Linked DNA regions of Homo sapiens: region 1 is linked to region 2. Evidence: promoter capture Hi-C in human tissues and cell types (Jung and others, 2019). All regions are on one chromosome and are shown on one strand. The core of a region is centred on a gene start or on the middle of the fragment in contact, and the rest is flanking DNA. Distances in the headings are between cores, read along the strand shown. Region 1 overlaps LOC124905149 (a long non-coding RNA gene). Region 2 holds the start of TUBGCP6 (tubulin gamma complex component 6).

Region 1 (6,509 bases), core at 1-2,500, 390 kb after region 2:
GATGAGAAAAATGTAAAATTGTATTGGCCTTTTAGAACCTTAACATTTTTCCAAATTGGCTCCTCTAAGGATTGCAGTCCCATTTACTTCTACCCCTCCGTGCTCCTCCATCCCCTTTGCCATCTTTGGTACCTAATGAAGGGATCTACAAGGGACTTCTGATGACTTAGAGACCCCTTGGGGAACGCAAAGAAAGGTGCCACGCGCCCCGCTTTTGTCTTCCTTATGGGGCCTGAGGAGTCGTGGGTAGCTTCCTCTCGGGTCTAAAGCTTGGCTGTCTTTGGCACTGTGTCACTGGATCTCTTTGGCTTTGGGGGTACCAGGGATTACGTTGCACTGTGAGACAGTGCATGACCTGAGTGTGTGTGATGGCCGGCAGGTCACTGGCGAGGGCTGCCTCACAGTTTTGGAGGTGGCTGAAAGCAGTTGTAGTGAATGGTTGTTCCTGCAGTGGCTGCTTGTTTCTCTGCATGTTTAGATGAGAAAGGCACAATCTGAACACTTGGAGACTATGGAAGCACTTGGCGTCAAAGGCTGAGACTCCGTGGGCTGATTGCTGTGGGTCTCCCACCAGCCTCAGGGGAATGTCTTCATAGTGAGGTACACTGTGGAAACACTGTATGGCTTTGTCTCATATATATCTCTTTTTAGAGGGAACTCAGCATTCAGTGTAAATGTGGGATCCTTGATTTTAAAAGATCTAGATGCTCTGCCTTCCAGCTGCACCTGTTTTTCACATATTTAAATATTAGGTCCTCCAAACTGCAAATGCTTTTTTGGCCATGTTCATTAATGAGCTCTGTCCTGAGCCCAGTGGTCTAGTTCAAAAATGGAGAATAAATTAATAGCCACATATTTAAATAACATTGTTGTCCTTATAAAATCCTGTGGTGAATTTCTATGACTTTTTGTTACCTCAGCATCCATTTAAAATCTTCCTTTAACATACTAAATCAAAGCTTAAACTTTCTCCCTGTGGAATTGCTTGAACCAAGGAGGCAGAGGTTGCAGTGAGTCAAGATCGTGCCGTTGCACTCCAACCTGGGCGACAGAGCAAGACTCCGTCTTGAAAAAATTCAGTAAATAAAAATAATTTTTTTTTCTCTGTGCTTCAAGATGTAAATTTGTTGCCTTGTTTTCTCTAAAACTTGGTAAGGGCTTTGGCCGTGTGAGACAGATAAATTTTACCTTGTTCCATTTACAGAGGCACAATTTTAAGTATCCTTTTAAACTAGTGATTTTTACCCGATTCGTGGCTAAAATCTTAAAACTAAAGCTATAAAATCTTGATTTGTGTCTGTATTTTTATGTGTACATGCCTGTTTGTATATTATGTACATAGTAGCAAATTGACGTATAAATAAATAAGTGCTCATGAATGATGTAACTAAACCCAGATGCTTTTCTAGTTCATGTGACTAGTAATCTTTGGCAAATAAACTTAGTTTTAAAATTGTTGCTGCTGGGTGCAGTGGCTCACACCTGTAATCCCAGCACTTTGGGAGGCTGAGGCGGGCAAATCACGAGGTCAAGAGATCGAGACCATCCTGGCCAACATGGTGAAACCCCGTCTCTACTAAAAATACAAAAATTAGCCAGGCGTGGTGGCATGCGCCTGTAGTCCTAGCTACTCAGGAGGCTGAGGCAGGAGAATCACTTGAACCTGGGAGGTAGAGGTTGCAGTGAGCCGAGACTGCACTACTGCACTCTAGCCTGGGTGACAGAGTGAGACTCCATCTCAAAAAAAAAAATGATGCTAAAATTAGAATATCTTCAAAGTCGTCAGTCTTAAATATAATTGAGACATCTTTGCTTGGGCCCATTGGTCGGACAGGTTCAGACAGTCTCTGTTAGATGCTTTAAGGTCATAAAATTTGCTTCTGTCATATTTCTGATACTTGCTTAATTTGTCTGTGAACTTAGGTCTTTGGCTTTGAGCCTCTACATTCTGGGGTCAAGACAAGTGGACATGATGTGGCCTGGAGACATCTGTGTGTCCGCAGTACCTAAGCCCCATCCTCCCTGGCCCAGCTGTACCCCCCGGTCATGCTGTTTGTCTGCAGTGCCCGAGCCCCGTCCTCCCTAGCCCAGCTGTGCCCCCCGGCCATACTGTGTGTCTGCAGTGCCTGAGCCCCGTCCTCCCTAGCCCAGCTGTGCGCCCCAGCCATGCTGTGTGTCTGCAGTGCCCGAGCATTGTCCTCTCTTGCCCAGCTGTGCCCCCCGGTCATGCTGTGTGTCTGCAGTGCCCGAGCATTGTCCTCCCTGGCCCAGCTGTGCCCCCCGGTCATGCTGGGAGGGGTTGAGTCCTCCAGGCATTGTCTTTGTAGTAGCCCATTCTCACACTGCTAATAAAGACATACCTGAGACTGGGTGATTTGTAAAGGAAAGAGGTTTAATTGACTCACAGTTCAGCGTGGCTGGGAAGCCTCAGGAAACTTACAATCATGGCGGAAGAGGAAGCAAACACGTTCTTCACATGAGGTCAGGAAGGAGGTGTGCAGAGCGAAGAGTGGGGAAGCACCTCATGAAACCATGAGACCTCGTGAGAACTCACTAGCACAAAAACAGCGTGGGGGAACCGCCCCCTTCATCTAATCACCTCCCACTGGGTCCCTCCCACAACACCTGTGGATTTTGGGAACTACAGTTCAAGATGAGATTTGGGTGGGGACACAGCCAAACCATATCAGTCTTTAAAGCTCTGTCCTTTGTCCTGGGCTTTGCATCTTTAATAACAATTAAAATTGCTTACTTCCCATGTTTTTCACTGAAAATTAGGCTTCCTAAGAGTTAACATTGTAATTAATATATGTATTTAAAACTACTAGATATAAGAGAAACACTTCTGTATGCAAAGTTTATAAGAAAGTAGGATGTGTTTTTGGTAAGGAAGGTTATAAAGAAGGCATGAGAATGAGGTTTTTGTTAAAGGAAAAGTAATTTTGTCTAGTTTTGATGTTTTTAAAGGTTGTTTTAAATTAAAGGAATAAAAAAATGATAGATAAAACTGAATATATATAGAAAGTTTGAGAAACAAAGAATGGAACAAATTTTAAGAGGTTATTAAAGGTTTATGGAAATCTTATGTGGTCAAAGCTGATTGAGATTGAATGGATCTGTTTTTAAGTTTTTATTAAAATTAGCTTTAGTATTAATAATATGCTAATGTAAAGGTAGAATTTAGTTTTCATTTTTGAGTAAGATTTTCATGTAGTATTAATAAGAGACAGTAAAAGATTTTTGTTTACCTTTTGAGTAAACTACAAGAAAAGGAGGAGTAGGCCCGGTACGGTGGTTCACACCTGTAATCCCAGCACTTTGGGAGGCCGAGGTGGGTGGATCACCTGAGGTCAGGCGTTTGAGACTAGCCTGGCCAAGATGGTGAAACCCCATCTCTACTAAAAATACAAAAATTAGCCAGGCGTGGTGGCGCCTGCCTGTAGTCCCAGCTACTCAGGAGGCCGAGGCAGGAGAATCGCTTGAACCCGGGAGGCGGAGGTTGCAGTGAGCTGAGATTGTGCCACTGCACTCCAGCCTGGGCAACAAGAGTGAGACTCTGTCTCACAAAAAAAAAGGAGGAGTAGAGAGTTTGCCTCATGCTGTCTTTATTTATTTATTTATTATTTTGGAGACAGGATCTTGCTGTGCCACCCAGGCTCATCTCGAACTCCTGAGCTCAAGCAGCCCTCCTGCCTTGGTCTCCCAAAGTGCAGGGATTACAGGTATGAGCCACCACGCCTGGCTCAAAATTATAATTATTATGTTAAATTGTTGTATGTCACACAAAAAAACAAATCTCCTTGTGAATTGCATCTGTAACCATCATTAGTCTAAGTCATCTGTCATCCACAGTCAATTACTGTTTTACTTTGATTCTTTTTAAAAAGCAGCTTATAATTAGCTACAGTTCAAGACTTGCTTCTTCCTCAAGGAAACTCATGTAAAGTACCCAGACAAGTACTTTTTTTTTTTTTTTTTTTTTTTGGTTTTTGGTTTTTTTTTTTTGAGACCGATCTCGCTCTGTCGCCCAGGCTGGAGTGTAGTGGCGCGGTCTTGGCTCACTGCAAGCTCCGTCTCCCGGGTTCATGCCATTCTCCTGCCTTAGCCTCCTGAGTAGCTGGTACTACAGGCGCCCGCCACCACACGTGGCTGATTTTCTTTGTATTTTTAGTAGAGATGGGGTTTCACTGTGTTAGCCAGGATAGTCTTGATCTCCTGAGCCCACGATCCGCCCGCCTCGGCCTCCCAAAGTGCTGGGATTACAGGCGTGAGCCACCATGCCCGGCCTCAAGATGCTTTTAAAAGTCTAATCTGAGATTCCTTATGAAAAAGTTCTGGCAAAGCCAACTTTAAAAGAGGTTGAATGGCCAGTCACTATTATTACTGTACTTTATGCAAATAATCAGGCCAATTATAATAAGACTAAAACTTATTTTGTAAATCAGTTGTTCTTACTCTGATTTGTCTTTTGTGGAAAAGGGAGACTGGAGAGAGAAAAAATATGTTTTAGAAGAAAACTATAGTATACCTGTTATTAGAGTCCAGACTGACTGTTGACACCTGTTATTAGAGTCCGGACTGACTGTTGACACCTGTCACGAGAGTCCGGACTGACTGTTGACACCTGTCACAAGAGTCCGGACTGACTGTTGACACCTGTCATTAGAGTCCGGACTGACTGTTGACACCTGCCGTGAGGAGAGTCCGGACTGACTGTTGACACCTGTTATTAGAGTCCGGACTGACTGTTGACACCTGTTATTAGAGTCCGGACTGACTGTTGACACCTGTTATTAGAGTCCGGACTGACTGTTGACACCTGTTACGAGAGTCCGGACTGACTTGTTTTTGAGTTGTTATCATTTGCCTATAGTTTGAACTGAATCCTGCATTCTTTCCTAGCTCCAAGTCTCTAAACTAATGCTTTCCAGTTTTTCTCCCATTTTTCTGATTTAAAATCACTGGAAATTAAAATGGCTTTTCTTGAAGCCCTGCAACTGAAGCTAAATTACTTATAATCTTCAGGAGAAATCATCACAGCGACTTATGTATAAATAGCCTTTGTGCCTGTTGATATATGGACTATTCAGAAAGTTCACTTGAACACCCAATTAGAACTACAATCCAGAAAAATCTGTCAAATTGCCATTGCAATCTGAAGATGCTCCAGATGCCTCAGATTGAGGAGAGCTAGAAAAGCTAGTCTATGGATGACACCAGACATTCACCGTTTTTTTTCTTCTGTTTCCATAGAATTGTATCTTGTTAAAGATCTGTTTGTGTGAATTATATACGAGGTCCCAGCCCATCTGCAATGCCACTTCTTGGAATAGGATACAGCTGTTTAACTGAGCTGATCTAGTCTCAGGACTAAGAGACGGATTCAAGAAAATATGGCATGATACATATCTATTTTTCAGAGACAGGGTCTCACTCACTCACCCACAAAGTGGTGTGATCACAGCTCTCTGCAGACTTGACTTCCCAGGCTCAGGTCATCCTGCTGCATCAGCCTCCCAGGTAGCTGGGACCACAGACACAAACTACCATGCCTGGCTAATTTTTTATTTTTTGTAGCAATAGAGTCTCCCTGTGATGCCCGGGCTGGTCTGAACACCTGGGCTCAAGTGCTCCTCCTGCCTCAGCTTCCCAAAGTGCTGAGATTTACAGCCATGAGCCACTGTGCCCTGCCAGGATGACATTTAAATTTGTCTTTTTCTGCTTATCCCAATTTCTTTTTGCCCGCCTCTGCCTGTCTCTTATCTAACAACCTCTAACTCAAATCTCTTCAAAGCTATCAACTTTCTTTTTATATGGGCAACTTTCTGAAAGTCTCAAAGTGGGGACTGAAGGAAACCAAAATATTTCGCCCCAAAATGTATTTCCATGGCTGGGCATGGTGACTCACGCCTGTAATCCCAGCACTTCGTGAGGCCGAGGTGGGCAGATCACCTGAGGTCAGGAGTTTGAGACCAGGCTGGCCAACATGGCGAGACCCCGTCTCTACTAAAAATACAAAAATTAGCCAGGCATGGTGGTGCATGCCTGTAATCCCAGGGAGGCTGAAGCAGGAGAATCACTTGAACCCAGTAGGTGGAGGTTGCAGTGAGCTGAGATTGCACCACTGCACTCCAGCCTGGGTGACGGAGTGAGACTCTGCCTCAAAACAAACAAACAACAACAACAAAAATATTTCCTTGACACGGTTCAAGACAGTTACTCAGAAGGACTGGAAATAGAAGAATAGCTGAAAAGCTGTCTTTTGTGGGGGAGATTTGCATCTGTGGAGAGAATCTACACTGATGCGGCCAGGCCTCCTCTGAGGCCCTCCTTGCCTGATCTGGGAAGAGTAACAGTCTGACGCCTTTAAAGGCCTGAAGGGAACATTCACCATCTGTTCTCTCTCAGGGCTGCTACCTGTGAGGTTTCATCTGTAGAACAAGGCCACCTTTGCTAGCCAGGCCTCCTCTGCTCTCCCTCCTGTAACCGGTCTTGCCACTGGTCACCTG
Region 2 (6,917 bases), core at 3,185-5,684:
TAAGCCTCAGTGGAACTTAGAGTGAAACTTTTTGAGATGCCTCAGACCTGGAAATTCCAATGTGGGGAACCCAGAATTAAAAAAATCACACTCAACATTAAAACACTACTGTACACCGGGGCCAGGCGCAGTGGCTCACGCCTGTAATCCCAGCACTATGGGAGGCTGAGGCAGGTGGATCACCTGAGGTCAGGAGTTTGAGACCAGCCTGGCCAGCATGTGAAACCCCGTCTCTACTAAAAATATAAAAATCGGCCAGGCGTGGTGGTGGGCACCTGTGGTCCCAGCTACTCGGGAGGCTGAGGCAGAAGAATTGCTTGAACCCGGGAAGCGGAGGTTGCAGTGAGCCGAGATTGCGCCACCACACTCCAGTCTGGGCGACAGAGCAAGACTGTGGGCAGCAAGCCACCCAGGTGCCGAGGCAAGAGACCGAGGGCACGAGCTGTTCTAGTACAATAAAATATATAGAACAAGAATAGTTACACTATAGATCATAAATATGATTATATATGAACGTTATTAATCATTAGTTTGTAGCAATTGCTCTTTATTCCAAGATTATAATAATCTTCGCTCTACAATTGTAACTTACGAGAAACCAGGCCATACAGAGACAGGAGCTGAAGGGGCAAGGTGAGAAGTGACCAGAAGACAAGAGTGTGAGCCTTCTGTCATGCCCAGACAGGGCCACTAGAGGGCTCCTTAGTCTAGTGGTAATGGCAGCACCTGGGAAGACGCCCATTACCTAGCGGACCTTGGTCTAGCGGTAGCGTCAGTGCCTAGGAAAAGCACCCACTACTTAGCAGACCAGGAAAGGGAGTCTCCCTTTCCCTGGGGGAGTTAGAGAAGACTCTGCTCCACCACCTCTTGTGGAGGGCCTGACATGACTCAGGCCCACCCGCAGTTATCCAGAGGCCTAAACGTCTCCCTGTGATGCTGTGCTTCAGCAGTCACACTCCTAGTCCACTTTCATGTTCCATCCTGTACACCTGGCTCTGCCTTCTAGATAGCAGTAGCAAATTAGTGAAAGTACTAAAAGTCTCTGAAATGCAGAAATAATGGTGTAAGCTGTCTCCTCTCTCTCTGCTTCGGCTGCCAAACAGGGAAGGGCCCCCTGTCCAGTTGACACGTGACCCACGTGACCTTACCTATCATTGGAGATGACTCACACTCCTTACCCTGCCCCTTTTGCCTTGTATCCAATAAATAACAGCGCAGCCTGGCATTTGGGGCCACTACTGGTCTCCACGTGTTGGTGGTAGTGATCCCCCGGGCCCAGCTGTTTTTTCTTCTATCTCTGTCTTGTGTCTTTATTTCTACCATCTCTGGTCTCCGCATATGGAGAGAAAAACCCACAGACCCTGTAGGGCTGGTCCCTACACAAGACTCCATCTCAAAAAAAAAAAAAAAAAAAAAAAAAAGAACAATCAGGCCGGGCTCACGCCTGTAATCCCAGCACTTTGGGAGGCCGAGGCGGGCAGATCACGAGGTGAGGAGATAGAGACCATCCTGGCTAACACGGTGAAACCCCGTCTCTACTAAATATACAAAAAATTCGCAGGGCGTGGTGGCAGGCACCTGTAGTCCCAGCTACTCAGGAGGCTGAGGCGGGAGAATGGCGTGAACCTGGGAGGCAGAGCTTGCAGTGAGCCAAGATTGTGCCACCGCACTCGAGCCTGGGCGACAGAGCGAGACTGTGTCAAAAAAAAAAATCAAATAAAATAAAAAAATAAAAATACAAACATATAAAATACAAAAATTAGCTGTGTGTGGTGACGCACACCTGTAGTCCCAGATACTTAGGAGGCTGAGGCAGGAGAATCGCTTGAACCCAGGAGATGGAGGTTGCAGTGAGCCGAGACCACACCACTGCACTCCAGCCTGGGCGACAGAGCAAGACTTGTCTCAAAAACAAAAAACAAAACTGCTGTACACCAAGACATTTGCTGTAGCATTATGTATGTTTCTAAATCATCTAGCTATCGCATAAGAATAGAACGACTAGTAACAATGTATCCTTTTGGCAACACTGATAAAGCAATAAAATACAAAACTCAAATGAGGAGCTACAGCGTACCATGGTAAAGCCTCAGGCGACAGACAGCAAAAACATATCCAATTGCACGAATTACAGAACATGAACACTTTTGCCACACGTGGCTACTGAGCACTTGAAATGTGGCTTGTGGGGCTGAGGAACTGAGTATTTTATTTTGTTTTAATTAACTTCAATTTAAACGGCAGCTCTAGAAGGCAGAGGTGGCTTAACGATATACCCCATTAGGTAAAGATGAAAAGCAGCATGTTGCTTTGGCCGGCAGGTGGGCAGCACTGTCGCTGCAGAGGAGGGTGGCCGCCAGTAAGCCCACTCCAGCAGCCCCACCTCAGGACAATGCAGCCACCAGACTATCCCCCCTTTTACCATGATAAAAGGAAGGTCACCGGGCCGGGCACAGTGGCTCATGCCTGTAATCCCAGCACTTTGGGAGGCCGAGACGGGTGGATCATTTGAGGTCAGGAGTTGGAGACCAGCCTGGCCAACATGGTGAAACCCCGCCTCTACTAAAAATACAAAAATTAGTTGGGCATGGTGGCTCACGCCTGTAATCCCAGCACTTTGGGAGGCCGAGGCAGGCGGATCAAGAGGTCAGGAGTTCAAGACCAGCCTAGCCAGCATGGTGAAACCCCATCTCTACTAAAAATACAAAACTTAGCTGGGCGTGGTGGCATGCACCTAAATCCCAGCTACAGCTACTCGGGAGGCTGAGGTAGGAGAATCACTTGACCCCGGGAGGCGGCGGTTACAGTGAGCCGAGATCGCGCCACGGCACTCCAGCCTGGGCAACAGAGCAAGACTCCATCTCAAAAAAAAAAAAAAATTAAGCCGGGCGTGGTGGCAGGTGCCTGTAATTTCAGCTACTCGGGAGGCTGAGGTACGAGAATTGCTTGAGCCCAGAAAGTGGAGGTTAAGGTGAGCCAAGATCGCGCCACTGCACTCCAGCCTGGGTGACAGAGTGAGACACTGTCTCAAAAAAAAAAAAAAAAAGAAGAAGAAGAAGAAGAAGAAAGGTCACAGGAAGCATTTTCCAAACCCCGAGAGAGATGAAAGAGGAAAAACTAAACATTCTACCTTAATAGCCAGCCCAGAGAGGTCCGCATTGTCTGGCACGGGGGGCAGGCCCAGTCGGACGTCCATGTCATAAGTGCGGCTGTGCACAAGGGCCCCGAAGAGCGAGACCCGGGTGTCTCTCTCGAACCTGTCACCACAAGGGTCACCAAATGAGAAGAGCCCGACGGTGGGCAGGCCAGTGCCTGGAGCAGCCTCCATAACCTGAAGTGTTTCCTGGATCATGCTGTGACACAAACACTCTTCTCTGGAGATCAGAGACTGAACGTCCATCTCAAACACACTCAGGTCGTCGCAATCATAGCCGCTGTACGGAACGTTTCTCCCCACATGCTTGTTGTTAAGGAAGTAGTCTCGTTTTCTCGGCAGAACTTGAGGGGGACCACTCCCTGCCAGCTGAACCAGGAGGTCCAAAACAGACCCCACCTCCAAAAGCGGACAGCAAGGGGCTGCTTCCAGCTCCTCCACAAGCTCCTCCAAACGGTCGGCCTTGGGGCCCAGGCCACCCACTCTCAAGTCAAAGGACAACATGAGGATCTTGTTTCTCGCTGGTAGTTTTGACATGTCAGGCTGCAGCTGTTGAGTCTCATCTTGAAAAAGATTTGTGAAAAGAGCATTGTAGGCCACCTTCTTGAGGCTCCGCTTTGCCCTCTTCCGGTTCACACTGCGCTGGCCCAGGTGAGTCTTGGCAGCCGGCAGGAGGGCCTCACACAGGTCGTCGAACAGCTGCGTGATGCTGGCCATGCCCCTTCTCAGCTCCGGGCCCCCGGCGTGTGGGAAAACACCTCACCCGGGCTTCACTCACGCTCCGGAAGACAGGGAGTGAGAGAGGGTCCGAAGAGGCTGAATGACAGGCGGCCTCTCCAATGCCGAAGCTCAGAACTGGTATTTTTTAAAGGAGGTCTTGCGGTTGCTCTACTCAGAGTAAACACGCCCTGCCCTCCCCAGTCCAAGCACGCTGCCCGGCGCCCGGCAGCCCACCAGAAGCCAGCTCGGCGTTTCTTCTAATTCAGTAGCCCTCAACCTTTAGGGAGTCACAGAACCGTGGCAAAACCGAAGAACGAAACGCGCGCCCGCGCAGTACAGCGGACGAACTCGGCTTTGCACCCGTTCTTCGGGACCCACGAGAGGAGACGGCCAGGAGAGGGTGCCACTCCGAGGGTCGTGGGCAGCGGAGAGTCTGGGGGCTCAGCCGGGTGGGTCCCGGGTTCTGGCCTGCACGTCCACCCGTTCTCCAGGCCTCACCCGTGGAAAGTGCCCACGGCTGCCGCTCTCGCCGCCTCCGTCGCGTCACAGCCGCGCCAGTGTGAAGAGCACTAGGGCGGGCGCGCCGGAAATACGTCACGGGAACGCCGGCAGCGCGTGAAGTTGGTGAGGCCTGGGCCGCGGCATACTTCCGGCCTGAGTCCGGCACCGCGGGTGAGAGACCGAGGCCGAGCGTGCTCAGTAAAGGAGGCAGAGCCAGCGTTTCGTTTGAGCGATGTTTACTAACGGCGCAAGGGCGGGGAGCGAAGCGCAGCGGGGCGCAGGGGCCGGAACGGGACCGAGCGTGGGTTGCATGGGCCTCGATGGGACGGGCCGGGGCGCGATGGGTGGGGCGGGGGCGAGGTGAGGTGAGGGGTGGAGCGGGGGAAGCACGGGTGGGAGAGGGCGGGGCGCGGGGATTGGGAGTGGGCGGGGTTCCGTGCCCCAGAGTCGAGGGAGCCGTGGGCTTGGGGTCCGGATCGCGGCCGCGGGGCGCTGGCGTGCGGTGTCATTTCTGCGGTGTAAATGCTCCCACCTTGGCCGATTTCAAGCCACCAGGTGAGGATGGCACTACAGGAGGAGCCGAGAAGAGGCGCGCAGTTGGCCTCCGGCGCTGGAGCTGGTTCAGGGCACTCCCCTGCCCTGCCCTCCCCACCGATCTGTGCGGCAGAGCCAGGCCCCAGGGCAGGGCCATGCCTCCGCAGTCAGCCTCACCTGCAACATCTTCCACTGAGGCTCCAGCTGCCCTCTCAGGTACATCAGGGCCTGGACGTCCTCTGGGGAGGCCACAGAGGAAGGGCCTAGGCTAGGAGGTGCCTCTCCATTCAGCACCCGGGCCAGGATCCCTGCTAGCTGGGGTGTGGAGTTCTGGACCAGGGGCGAAGACGGAAGCAGTCACTGGTCCTTTCCCTCGTCCCACCCCGCAGCACCTCCACCCTGCCCAGCTTACCTCCTCCAGGAGGGCCAGGACTCGGCCCCCTGCCAGCCCCCGAAGCATTGCAGCCAGGAGTGCAGCGTGGGGGCCCTGCAGGCCATGGCCAGGCCCCAGCGCCACCAGCACCAGGTCAGGCTGGAAGCCATAGGCCAGGGGCAGCACCAAGCCCAAGATGCAGCTCAGGAAACCACCGGTCATCTGTGGGGACAGCAGAGCCCAGCTCCTCATCTACGGACACCTGCTGGCTCTGGCCTCCCAACCTCCCAATCTCAGGGCCCCTGGAGTAGGAGCAGGGAGACAGGAAGGACCAGAGGCCTGCTATCATGACAATGCCAGCAAACAGCAGCTGTACACATCCATGGGCTCCCCAGCACCTGCCTTGCCGCGTGGCATGGTCACTCACCACTGGCAGTGGCGTGGAGACATGGAACATGGATAGGGCAGCCGCCTCCTTGCCCCTGATGTTCAGCCACAGACTCCTCCTTCCAGGACACAGGTGCATAAGTGTAAGGCCCTGCTCACCCTCCTGAGCCCAAACCGCAGAGGCAGAGGTGGAAGAGCATTCACGGGGCCATGGGCAGGGGTGCTGTGACTGCTGAGCCTCTGTGCTGGAGACCCACCTGGCATTGCCTCCAGCAGCCCTTCTCCCACACCCCAGCTGAGGAAGGCTCCATTCAGTACCACACAGTGCCCCACCCACCCGTCACCCTGGGGCCCAGGCACACGTCCATCACATGCCCGTCCACATGCATGGCTGGACATATGCAAGACCTGAGAGTCCTACCCGTCATGGGCGAGGTCTGGAGGCCGGTCCAGCTGTCCCAGGGCCACGCACAGCAGCCTGGAAGAAGAGCTGGCCTCAGGACAGGTGTTCATGTTGTCCAGAGTCCATTCCCAGAACTCTCTGTGCTTGGCCAGCCAGGATAGGGGTGCCCACAGGTCCTGCCGTCAGAGGCTCAGGATGGCCAAGTGAGGCTTACCTCTGGGCTCCGTGGGACAGGCCTCTCCGAACAGCCACATCCAGGGTGGCTGCTGCAGCAGAGGCTGGAGTGGCTGCTATACCACTGTTCACCTGTGGGATGAATAAACAGTGGAGAATGAGGCACCAACCAACTCCCAAGCCAGGTAAACAGATCCACAGTTCCCTTCATTCGGTGTGTCTCTGCGGCTACTGTCAGCCACACATCTTCTTACACTAAGGTCAATCACTCCATTTCTGTAAATAAGATGCTTACGTCTATAATTTTTTTTTTTTTTTTTAGAGAGGCAGGGTCTCGTTCTGTAGCCAGGCTGGCGTGCAGTGGCGCAATTGTAGCTCACCACAGCCTCAAACTCCTGGGCTTAAGCGATCGTCCTGCCTCAGCCTCCTAAGTAACTACAGGCACACACCACCACGCTTGGCTGACTTTTTTATTTTTTGTGAAGACAGGGTCTCCATATGTTCTCTAGGCTGGTCTTGAACTCCTGGGCTCAAGCGTTTCTCCCACCTTGGCCCCCCAAACTGCCGTTATTACAGGCATGAGCCACTGCACCCTGCCTAAATGTATACTTTAAATCACCCCCTTCACCTCTCTGCCAAAGAGCATTTAACTGAAGAAGCTGAGGTCAGAG

Evidence for each region. Contacts are between HindIII fragments. The study calls those that stand out against the background at their distance.
Region 1: a fragment that was not itself captured here is called in contact with the fragment with the promoter of TUBGCP6 in region 2 in 1 of the 25 tissues and cell types used here (spleen).

Annotation. Positions count from the first base shown.
Region 1 is chr22:50,633,620-50,640,128 of GRCh38, forward strand. LOC124905149 (a long non-coding RNA gene) reads left to right here. Exons shown (of 2, transcript XR_007068161.1): 1 at 1-1,079; 2 at 1,924-2,387. Among named protein-coding and RNA genes, the nearest start is that of ARSA, 8.7 kb to the left of the region's middle. RefSeq lists enhancers at 1,643-2,159, 2,160-2,674. The HindIII fragment of the contact is 5,037 bases long and covers 1-3,769 here.
Region 2 is chr22:50,240,589-50,247,505 of GRCh38, forward strand. TUBGCP6 (tubulin gamma complex component 6) reads right to left here and starts at 4,435. Exons shown (of 25, transcript NM_020461.4): 1 at 3,131-4,435. The coding sequence starts at 3,871. It overlaps HDAC10 (histone deacetylase 10), which reads right to left. Exons shown (of 20, transcript NM_032019.6): 15 at 6,287-6,378; 16 at 6,091-6,147; 17 at 5,710-5,788; 18 at 5,322-5,504; 19 at 5,087-5,239; 20 at 4,595-4,942. The coding sequence ends at 4,919. RefSeq lists enhancers at 817-1,116, 3,024-3,954, 3,528-3,807, 4,218-4,267 and a silencer at 4,738-4,807. The HindIII fragment of the contact is 41,268 bases long and covers 1-6,917 here.